Linked DNA regions of Homo sapiens: region 2 is linked to region 1. The links are contacts of gene promoters, found by promoter capture Hi-C in blood cells and fetal thymus (Javierre and others, 2016). All regions are on one chromosome and are shown on one strand. The core of a region is centred on a gene start or on the middle of the fragment in contact, and the rest is flanking DNA. Distances in the headings are between cores, read along the strand shown.

The links. Contacts are between HindIII fragments. The CHiCAGO score rates a contact against its expected background, and 5 or more counts as called.
Region 2: a fragment that was not itself captured here is called in contact with the fragment with the promoter of VPS35L in region 1 in 1 of 17 cell types (activated CD4 T cells); the score reaches 5.5 in activated CD4 T cells.

The regions. Positions count from the first base shown.
Region 1 is chr16:19,551,347-19,557,188 of GRCh38, reverse strand. VPS35L (VPS35 endosomal protein sorting factor like) reads right to left here and starts at 1,486. Exons shown (of 31, transcript NM_020314.7): 1 at 1,443-1,486. The coding sequence starts at 1,459. CCP110 (centriolar coiled-coil protein 110) reads right to left here. Exons shown (of 14, transcript NM_001323572.2): 14 at 3,781-5,842. RefSeq lists enhancers at 802-1,031, 890-1,852, 1,412-1,891. The HindIII fragment of the contact is 7,423 bases long and covers 705-5,842 here.
Region 2 is chr16:20,743,774-20,749,495 of GRCh38, reverse strand. It overlaps a transcript of ACSM3 not described here. Among named protein-coding and RNA genes, the nearest start is that of THUMPD1, 4.8 kb to the right of the region's middle. The HindIII fragment of the contact is 7,304 bases long and covers 1-5,472 here.

The sequences.
Region 1 (5,842 bases), core at 237-2,736:
TTTGGTTAGCTTTTTGGTCAAGCCAGCATGACTTTTTCATTTTTTATTATTATTTTTTTGAGACAGAGTCTCACTGTTGCCCAGGCTGGAGTGCAGTGGCATGATCTCGGTTCACTCCAGCTTCCGCCTCCCAGGTTCAAGCGACTCTCCTGCCTCACCCTCCCAAGTAGCTGGGATTACAGGTGCGTGCCACCACTAATTTAGCCCAGCTAATTTTTGTATTTTTAGTAGAGATTAGGTTTCGCCATGTTGGCCAGGCTGGTCTCGAACCCCTGACCTCAGGTGATCCGCCAGCCTCGGCCTCCCAAAGTGCTGGGATTACAGGCGTGAGCCACCATACCCAGCCAGCATGACTATTAACTGAAAAAAAAAAAAAAACCTCAGGGTGTGGAAGTGCTCAGAGGCATTCAATGCTGATGTAGCGTGTCAAGGAAGCAGTCTCTTAAGTGTTGGGCAAATGAAAGGAATAAGACAAAATGAAGTGTTTATCAAGCTCAAAAGCAGAAGGTTGTACCTGATTATTTCTAAGGTCTTTCATTTGCTCATTTAATCTAAGCTACTTCACATCATTTGAAGAGAAAGTAAATTATCTCGCTTTCTGAGATGCAGGAGAGATTCCCCGTCCCCAAATCCCACTATCATCAACAACACAACTTCCTCAAGTTCTTCACTCACACACATACCACCTGCTGAACCCTGAAGCTTCAGTCACTCATTCCTAGCTACTCCAACCACAAGGGACCTACGGGCCTGCCAACCAGGCACACGCCACGCCCTCCCTATGGTGGACTCCTATTCATCCTCCAAGACCCAATTTAACTCCTCCTCTCTGAAGCCTTCCCCTAGCCCCCTGGTGGGGATAATCACTCCCTTCTTGGTGCCTCATCCGAATGCCTTCTTTAGACATCCCTCTACTGTGCGTCTGCCCCATTATACTGTCAGCTCCTTGAGGCCAAGGAATAAGTCTGAGGGCTGTGCCTAGGATAGGATGAATGGCGGCCATTTTACAGATGAGAAAAGCAAGTCTCCAGGTGAACAGAGGAGCTGAGGAAACTGACCAACAGCCAGATCTCCCGACTCGTCCAGACTTTAAAAGCTGAGTCCACCATTACCCTCATCCAGCGACCCCAGAACCCGCGCCAACTTCTGGGGACGCGGAAGCCTGGAAACTCAAGTTTTCTTTAGGGAATGAATGGACAGGGGCCCGTGGAAGGCGCAGAGAGGCAGCAGACGGGGAGAGAACCAAGAACCCGCCAGTCTGGCTTCAGATTGCTCCGCTGGACCGCGGTAGCGGCCAGGGATTCTACGGTCAAGACAACTTGGGGGTGGCCGGTCGACCACCAGAACCCGACAGAGAGGAATTCACACTCTCAGACCCAGGCCGACCCCATCACAAGTAAGGACAGCCCCTCTCCAAAGCCCACCCGCCGCTGCTTCCTTACCAAGGAAAGACGGCCATCTTCCCAGTCACATGACCGCTTGTTCTGGGGCCGTCTGCTCGGCTTCCCATCCTTACCCCGCCACTCCCCGCACCCCTCGGCCGCCATGTTTGTGAAGGGCAGCTGGCCGCCCCGCAGCGGCCGCACAGCACCTTCTGCAGACGCCATGCTTGTGAGGGGCAGGCGACGCTCCGCACAGCACAGGCTTCATTTTCAGCTGACGCCATGCTTGTGAGGGGCAGCTCCCCGCTCCGGACAGCCCGGGTTACAACTCCCGCCGGCGCCATGCTTCGGAGGAGCAACGTCGGCCACGGCCAGAGTGCCGTAGTTTCTATGAGTCATGATTGTAAAGGGCAGCTGTCTACAGTGCCGGGTGGTCCCGCCTGCGGGCGTCATGATGGTAAAGGGCATGACTGCTGCTTAGCTCACCTGCGTCCTCTAGGGGCAGAAAGGACTCCAGAAGGCGGCGGAGCGAAGACGCAAACTGAGGTTCAGCCAGTACCTGGTTTTGCGGCTAATACGCTGTTTGGCGTGGGACAGCCATGCCCCCTCTAGGCCGCTGCTTTACCCACTGCTTTGCGGGCGGTTTTAGACACTTGCAGAATGCCCTTCCCACGACTAGCAACCGAGGGCTGCCCTAGATCTAATATGATTGACTACAGCTAATGCACGTGGGGAAATTAGGGTTCGCATTTCGTCCAACTTGGCAAAGCAGTGTTTCTAGGAAGGTGGATATCCATTTCGACCACAGAACGTTTTTAAAAATTATTTTAGGCCGGGAGCGGTGGCTCAGGCCTATGATCCCAGAACTTCGGGAGGCCGAGGTGGGTGGTTCACCTGATGTCAGGAGTTCGGGACCAGCCTGGCCAACATGGTGAAACCCCGTCTCTACTAAAAAATACAAAAACTAGTTGGGTATGGTGGCGGGCGCCTGTAATCCCAGCTACTCGGGAGGCTGAGGCAGGAGAATTGCTCCAACCCGGGAGGATGAGGTTGCAGTGAGCCGAGATTGCGCCATTGCACTCCAGCCTGGGCTACAAGAGCGAAACTCCATCTCAAAAAAAAATTTTTTTTTTAATTATTACTTTTATAACTTACTTAGATATCCATTATGGTCCCTTAGAGAGAAAGCATTCGATGTTTTTATAACTCTTACTTTTCATTCGGGGGTGGTGGTCTGTGGTTGTTCATGAGATGGTGACCTATGACAGGGAAAAGGATCATCTCCAGAACGGGCCCTCCAGTGTTCAGCTCAGTATGAGTAGGAAAGTATATCCACTCGTACCTGCTATTCCCAACACTGGAAGTGAACAAGGGTTAAAGGGTGGCCACGGGAAAGCAAGGAGCTCTTCCCATACAGCCATGCATGTTATCACATGCAACATCTCAATAAGAGGTCAAGGTGAGGAGCCTTTTCCTAGGCTCACACTGCATGATTAGGCAGTAACAAGAGGAGGATTCTTAAAGTTGTGCAAATTAACAGCTTTGATGTGAGCTTCAACCTTCGCATTCTCTTTTCTCCCTCTCCTTCCCTTAGCAGGCTTCTATCTCTTAATAAGTTAAGACATTTCCAGCCTGAGTTTTACCTTCTGAAAAGTCCAACTTTTAGTAGAGACGGGGTTTCACTATGTTGGCCAGGCTGGTCTCAAACTCCTGACCTCAGGTGATCCTCCCGCCTTGGCCTCCCAAAGTGTTGGGATTACAGGCGTGAGCCACTGCACCTGGCCCAGGGGACATATTAAATAATGAGATATATCTTTCATGGAACTTGTAAAGAATGATTATATACAATATTTGTTTTGGCCTAATACTTTTCAATATCTGTTTCTTTTTTCTTTTTTGTTTTGGAGACAAAGTCTCATTCAGGCTGGAGTGCAGTGGTGCGATTATAGCTCACTGCCACCTGTAACTCCTGGGTTCAAGTGATCCTCCTGCCTCAGCCTCCAGCGTACCTAGGACTACAGATGTGAACCACCATGCCTGGCTAATATCGGTTTCTTTTTTGTTTTGTTTTGAGATGGAGTCTTGCTCTGTCACCCAGGCTGCAGTGCAGTGGCACAATCTCGGCTCACTATAGCCTCCCCATCCCAGGCTCAGGCGATTCTCCTGCTTCAGCCTCCCAAGTAGCTGGAACTACAGGCATGCACCACTACGCCCAGCTAATTTTGTATTTTTAGTAGAGACGGGGTTTCACCATGTTAGCCAGGCTGATCTCAAACTCCTGATCTCATGATCCACCCACCTTGGCCTCCCAAAGTGCTAGAATTACAGGCATGAGCCACCATGCCCGGCCTATTTCTTAATAGTCCTTCCCCTGGTAAATAAAAACAATCAAACTAGATTTTCTTTAAGATGAAAAGTTTATTTTGCTTTTTGCCTAGAAGCAAAACTAGTGAAAATAAAAGTATAAAAATAAATACAATTTACATTAATGAACATTCCACTCAAAGTAAAAATAAGCAAAAAAAGTATATAAATAAAAATCCATCAAAAGCACAAACAGTGTCTGGCACCTGTATGAGAAGAAGCTATGAACACCAAAAAAGAATGTGTAAAACACAGGCTTTTATCTTTAAATTAAAAACACTCAAGTTTCTCATCCTTACTCTAAAGCTAGTTTTAACTTTCTCCAAAACTATTTGTTTTAACTAATTTGCATTACACACACAAAAAGTGCACAAAACTTTTAGCATCTTTCTTACTGGAGAGACCCACAATGCTATGAATAAGCTGTATCCTGAGTTTTCAGAATGATAAAGCACAGTTTATCATATTAAGAAGACAATTTGATACTTTGCCTATAAATTTTAAAAAATTGGTAACTTGGACTTTTTTTGACCATCTTCTAATTTTCTGGTTCACTCATTCAATACATGATACATCTCAATAAAGAAAATCAAGTTTACACCCAGGGTGGCTTATTATTTCTGTCTATAGCTGGATGTCAAAGTTAAATTTAAAATGGCACAGAAAATTGGAGAAAACAATCTTCATCTCCATATTCTTAAAAGGATATTAAGAATATATATAGGTTGCATTTTCAAAATACCAGTATCTCTTTAAAATTTAAATTAGATTAAATATACACTGTCTCAATTTTATGTGAAAAGCACAAAGCCCTTTTTGGAAATGGTATGATAAATTAATAGTGACATTCTCCCTCATGAAGTCACGTTATCTTGGTAACATTTGTTGGTTGATACTTTTTTTTTTTTTTTTTTTTGAGACAGTGTCTTGCTCTGTTAACCCGACTGGAGTGCAATGGCACAGTCTCAGCTCACTGCAACCTCTGCCTCCCAGGTTCAAGCAATTCGCCTGTCTCAGCCTCCCAAGTAGCTGGAACTACAGGCATGCACCACCATGCCTAATTTTTGTATTTTCAGTACAGATGGGGTTTCGCCATGTTTGGTCAGGCTGGTCTCAAACTCCTGACCTCAGGTGATCCACCCACCTTGGCCTCACAAAATGCTGGGAGTACAGGCGTGAGCCACCCTGCCTGGCCAGTTGATACTTTTAATGGATATGTTAGTGATGAAAAATCTTAAACATGGGTGTCTTTAAGCAATGCAGAATTTTAACCAGGCAATATTCTTATCCGGAAATCTGGATTTATTATTATATAGCCCTTTATTCTCTCCTAAATCAAGCATGCTAGAAAAAACAGACTATGAAGAACAAAATATACAGACTAAATAGAAAATATAACTGCATGCAACATATTATTATGTTACAGAAATGGATGTAATAATGCATTCCCAAGAGCTACATTCAAGAAGATTGTGCTGTCTTCCCCAAATTTGTTACCTGTCACAGAAAGATCTTATAACCTAGTACAAATGTTTCTAACAGTACTGGGGTAACATACATGAAGCCTAACATTTCTGTCAGACAACTAGTTGTCTGACAGGAATGTATGCTTCTGACCAAAATGGTGACCCACATTAACTTCTGTAGATTTTAGTGGGCCACAATTGGCTACATGGTTATACTGTAAGTCAAAGAAAGTGGACATTGAGTGGTTAATCCAAGTTTTTAAAGTTATAAAATGAGGGAAAGGCATTCTTCTGCAATAATTTCCCTTTGAATCAAATTCAAAAATCACTATGCAGAGATGAATTAAATTTATGTTTTAGAACTTATTTATAATTTGTCTTATCTTTTCAATATTCTGTAAAAGTAAATCCAAATGTCCTTGACATTTACAAAAAGGGTCTCTGTAGACATCTGGGCATATAAAATAAACTTATGTTTGTATAGGTAAGCACAGAGATGATGCAATTACTAAACACTAATTTGTCTTCACCCAAACGTATTATTAAGAGGAAAATAGGGGTGTGGAGCAGGAATTACCAAACTGACCAAATGATCCAGATAAGTGCTCAGCCTTCTGATGTCACTTTGTC
Region 2 (5,722 bases), core at 571-3,070, 1.2 Mb before region 1:
TTGGTAACCCTGACAGCAAAGGGGGTGAAAATACTCTTCTCCCCTTTCCCAGGCTTCTAACATAAGCTGAGAAGCAGGATGGTGAGGCTGGGAAATTGGTCAGAGGTAGCAGAGCCAGTAGAGTTACCTTTTCACAAACCTGGAGAGAGATGCTTCACTTAGTCCTTGTTGACAATTCTCTTTAGAATGCAAAAATCAGAGGTTTAGTGTCTCTTCATTCTTATCTTTGGGCTTTAGTTGGGAAATGTGGAAAAACAGTAGGTCTTATTAACCATCATTTTCATATATATATAGGATTAAAATATAACACACATATATATACATATGTGTATATCTATGTGCACATAGATATATAGATATTCCCCTTTAAAACATAAGTTAGTTCATATTACACATATCTCACTTTGAAAATCTTTTCTTTTTTCTTTTTTTGTGGAGACGGAGTTTCGCTCTTGTCACCCAGGCTAGAGTGCAATGGCTCATAGAGTGCGATTATGGCTCATTGAACCTCCATTTCCTGGGTTCAAATGATTCTTCTACTTCAGCCTCCCGAGTAGCTGGGGTTACAAGTGCCCACAACCACACATGGCTGATTTTTGTATTTTTAGTAGAGATGGGGTTTCACCATGTTGGCCAGGCTAGTCTCGAACTCCTGACCTCAAGTGATCTGTCTGCCTCGGCCTCCCAAAGTGCTGGGATTACAAGTGTGAGCCACTGCCTCCAGCCAGAGCTTTTCATATTAACATGTTTAGATATAATAGGTTATCTCTGGGGTACTGAGAACCAGCAAGAAGTGGCTGGAAACACATCAAAGCAAACTGACCAACACAAAAAGCCTGAGTCTCAACCTCAACTTTTTTGGTAAAAATTATCTCTACCAAACGTTCCAGTTAGCAACAGCTACAACAAAACAGCAGCAGTGAACACTTATTGAATATTTGTATGTGCAACTGACATGAATATTTTATTCAATACTCACAATGACTTTTAAGATAGATGCTGTGGCTATTCTCATTTTACTGATGAGGAACATGAGGATTAGAACAATTAACTTCCCCAAGGTCACAGAACTAGCAATGTGGTGGACTCAGTATTTAAACTCAGGATGGTGTGACCCCTAAAATATATTCTTAATCAATTTGTCTTTGTTCATCTATACATTGAATGCTGTACTCTTACTGAGGATGTGGCTTCCCTTCAATTTTTCATTTAAATATAAATTATTCAACCTGAGTATTCATGTAGATAATTCTTATTTAGGCCTTATTTGTACTGAAAGAACCTCTAAACTCCAGTTACCCTAGACTCTTTGTTTATTTATTTATTTATCTATCTATTTATTTATTTATTTATTTTTTGAGACATGGTCTCATTTTGTCCCCCCAGGCTGGAGTACAGTGGTCAGATCATGGCTCACTGCAGCCTTGACCTCCTGGGCTCAAACGATCCTCCCACCTCAGCCCCCCAAGTAGCTGGGACCACAGGTGTGCACCACCACACCTAAGTTTTGTAGTTTTTGTAAAGATGGGGCTTCACCATGTTGCCCAGGTTGGTCTGGAACTCCTGAGCTCAAGCGATCCACCTGCCTTGGCTGCCCAAAATGCTAGGATTACAGGCGTGAGCCATCATGCCCAGCTAGACTCTTACATGTACACTATACCTACCCTGAAATTTATATTTCTTATATCAGTGTTTTACTCAAGACTAGTGTTCTGCATTGGTGGAATATGCAGTCCATAGCATGATTTGAGTGGTAAATGGAATTATCTTTCTGTAACTTATTAAACTGAGATGCCACCATTGGTGATTCATTCTTTGGAGCATTGACTGAAGTGAAAGTAAGAAGCAGGCGGATGATCTAGAAGTGCTCAAAGAAGTAAAACTAAATAATAAAACTGTTGCAGGAATTAAGGGACAGGAGAGACCAATGGGTGGGACAGGAGGATTTTATTAGGTGAGCACCAGCCCAGCGGATTAACACCCAAAGGCTGAGCCCTGAACAAAGACAGGGCTTGACTTTTATACATGAATTTGAAAGGGGGTTGGCCAGTTTGATGGTGTGAAACCTGTAGGGTGGGTAAGCAGCTTACAGAAGCAGAACAAAGGCAGTTTGTTAAACAGTGACAGGTTTTGCAACTGAAGCATATCTTGTGACCTTGCCATGCTGTACAGAAGGGAAAAACAGGAACTTATAAAACTTTGCAAAATAATTATGAGAATGATAAGGGGGAAGGCGGAAGCTGAAAGAGAAGAAAAACTTGTTTTTCTCATCCCTGCTCTGGGATGGCAGGGAGAGGCTCTGGAACCCATCCCTTGAGGGCCCTGGCTCTGCAGATAGTGTTATCAAAGCCCTTCCAGAGCCCTGTCTATCGCTGGGCCTTGCAGTGAGTCAGCCTCCAAGAAAACTTGTTTTTTTTTTTATATCTCCTGCTTCAAAACAATTACTTTGGAACATAGATTATTCAACCAAATCTCAAAGGAGTGGGAAGGAAGTACCCACAAAACACCAGGAAAAGTTTAAGAAGAAAGACTTGTATGTTTAGAGTATAAAATTGAAAGATAAAATTGGAGGGAAAGAGATTTAATGACTTTTGCCCTTAAGAACATAGGCCCTCAAAGTGCCAAGTTTGCCATAGAGAAACATATCTGTCAAAACTGGGACCCAGGCACTGGTGGAATGAAATGAATTAGAGGTGATGGGGATCAGTATAGGACACTCAGCAGGGCTGAGTAGGTACAAAGGCCAGGCCAAATTTGACTCCTCTAGGGGCAGACTCAAGTTCACATTGGTTTAAAATTGGGTTCCAGCCTGGGTGATCAGGCTGTTGGGTGAGTTTCTCACACAGCGTCTGGGTGTAATGAAAGCACAAATGTGACAAGTGCTGCCAGTGAGGCTACAAAGCTAGTGAAAGGTGGGATGTCATTCAATCAAATGTGAGGCAGAAACCAGCTGGCAGAGGTAAGGCATGCCAGTCTTACGCATTTTATGTTATTTTACTTTACGCTATATATACTTTTAAATTCCCCTTTTCCACAGAGGAGGTCTATAGAACAATAAAATAAAACCCCTTTTAGTCTCCTAAGTAAAAGGATTCAACAGCTTTTAGTAAACCAAAAATATAAAAGAACCATTAAATTAGAGAATAATAGACAAATAATGAGGTTAGGTGATCAGACTGAGGGATGGATACTTACATCAAAAAGAAAAAAACAGGCTTCCATGATTCACGACTGAGTCTGAAAGCAGCTGTTTTTAAGCACATGTTGACTGAACAGTGGCTGAGAGCTAAGCACTTGTCATGACTGATCTTACTGGATTTTCCTAATAACCCATGATGTGAGTATTATTATTTCCATTATTATTATTTTTAAATCTAACAGGGAATCTAAACCTTGGCTTGGGTAACTTACTCAGAGTTTCACAGCCAGGTCATGGCCAAAGCAGAATTTGAACTTGGTTTGGCTTTAGAACCTGGGCTTTTAATCGTACTTGATACCTACTCTGAAGGCAGCAGATATTGGGAATCAAGTCAGAAGGAGACTGGGATTCACAGCCAGGATATCCATTCCCTGAAGATGCTGGGTAACAAGAGACTAAGGCAGGAAGTGTGGATGGGGAGCAAGGTCAGAACACGAGGAGTGTCTAAGAGCATCTCCTACCTGGGTTCTGTACTGAACATACAAGTAGAACTTCAGGGACAGTAACTTTGAAGGTTAGGAAGAGAAACAGAAAGGGAATCTAGAATGTGTCACACCATTCCCCCCTTGCTTGGCTGTGAGGCCTTCTGAATATCTGAAGCAAATAGGTTAATTAAAACAAAAGGTAACATCCTCAGATCACCTTAATCTACTCTAGATGGTGCCACAAGGTGCCAAGTGGTCTCTATTTATTTATTTATTTATTTATTTATTTATTTTGAGACAGAGTCTATTTTGCCCAGGCTGGAGTGCAGTGGCACGATTTCAGCTCACTGCAACCTCTGCCTCCCAGGTTCAAGCAACTCTCGTGTCTAGCCTCCCAAATAGCTGGGATTACAGGCATGCACCACCATGCCCAACTAATTTTTTTATTTTTAGTAGAGATGGGGTTTTGCCATGTTACCCAGTCTGGTCTTGAACTGGCCTCAAGTGATCTACCCTCCTTGGCCTCCCAAAGTGCTGGGATTACAAGCGTGAGCCACCGTGCCTGGCCCCAAGTGGTCCCTTCTAAGAGAGGTTTTCAAGCGACAGAGTCCCTGGTGTCTAAGGATAGACACTGGGCCATTGTCCATGTCTGGGAGGTAACCTAAGGAGGTGAAAGTTCACACAGCCATGAAATAATAGATGTAGTCTAAAGAATAAGCAAAAAAGAACAAAGAAGAATAATAAGGAATAAATGAAGGCTGAGTTATTTAGAGCTGGACGAGGGCCTGTTTCAGAAGAGGAAGTAAGTGGACGCAGCCCCGGCAGCTGCCACAGGATGAGTGTGTGATTTAGATAACTAACGTCTAGACTGAGAGCTACAGGGTTGCATATTTTTCTCACTTCATTGGATATTCTCTGCACAGTCAGCAACCATGAAATACAATAAACTGTTAAAAAACTTTAGACAAATTAAATTTAACAGAATTAAATTGCACAAGGAAGGATTCTCAAATCAGGCAGGCCCCTGACCCACTAACCGGAATAGGTTTAGAGACATCCTGGTGCTGCCACATGGTCAGAGATGATTTATGGACATAAAAAGAAAAGTGAGGTGCAGGAAATGGAAGTAAGGTACAGAAACAGCCCAATAGGTTACAACTCAGTATTTGCCTTATTTAAACGTGGTTTGGCTGGGCGCAGTGGCTCATGCCTGTAATCCCAGCACTTTGGGAGGCGAAGTGGGCAGATCTCTTGAGGTCAGGAGTTCAAGATCAGCCTGGCCAACATGGTGAAACCCCATATCTACTAAAAATACAAAAATTAGTTGGCCGTGGTGGCATGCACAGGTAATCCCAGCTACTTGGGAGGCTGAGGCAGGAGAATCGCTTGAACCCAGTAAGTGGACGTTGCAGTGAGCCGAGACTGCACCAGTGCACTCCATCCTGTGCGACAGCAAGACTCCGTCTCAAAAAACATAAAAATAAAAAACATGGTTTGAACAATCAGCCACCTGTGAGTGGTTGAGCATGGCTTCTGTGCTTGGCTGAGATTTGGCTACTTGTTACAACAGCCATTACAGTCTGTTTACACATCCAATTAGGTTATAGTTCACTATGTATGGAGAAACCTGTAGGCCAGGGATGTCCAATCTTTTGGCTTCCTTGGAAGAAGAATCCTCTTGGGCCACCCATAAAATATACTAATGCTAACAATAGCAGATGAATTTTTTTTAATTGCAGAAAAACCTCAGAGTGTTTTAAGAAAGTTTATTAATTTGTGTTGGGCCGGTTGAATTTCAAAGCTGTCCTGGGCCACATGTTGACTGTGGGCCAACAGGTTGGACAAGCTTGATTTAGGCCAAACTTAAATTTAGCCTAAAGCTGCCTCCTCACATATTTTAACAAAACTGAGTTTTTGTTTTTCAAGTTTGCCTCCATATAGTACTCAAATATGCTTGGGACTTGAAATATATATATTTTAACTTGTTATCTGTATGCTAATATTTGATATCCTAAGGACAGGTGGCAGAGTGTGGGCAACTGAAACCCAGCCAGCAGAAGAGAGAGAGATTTGGGGGAAGGCCAATGCCAGTGTCATG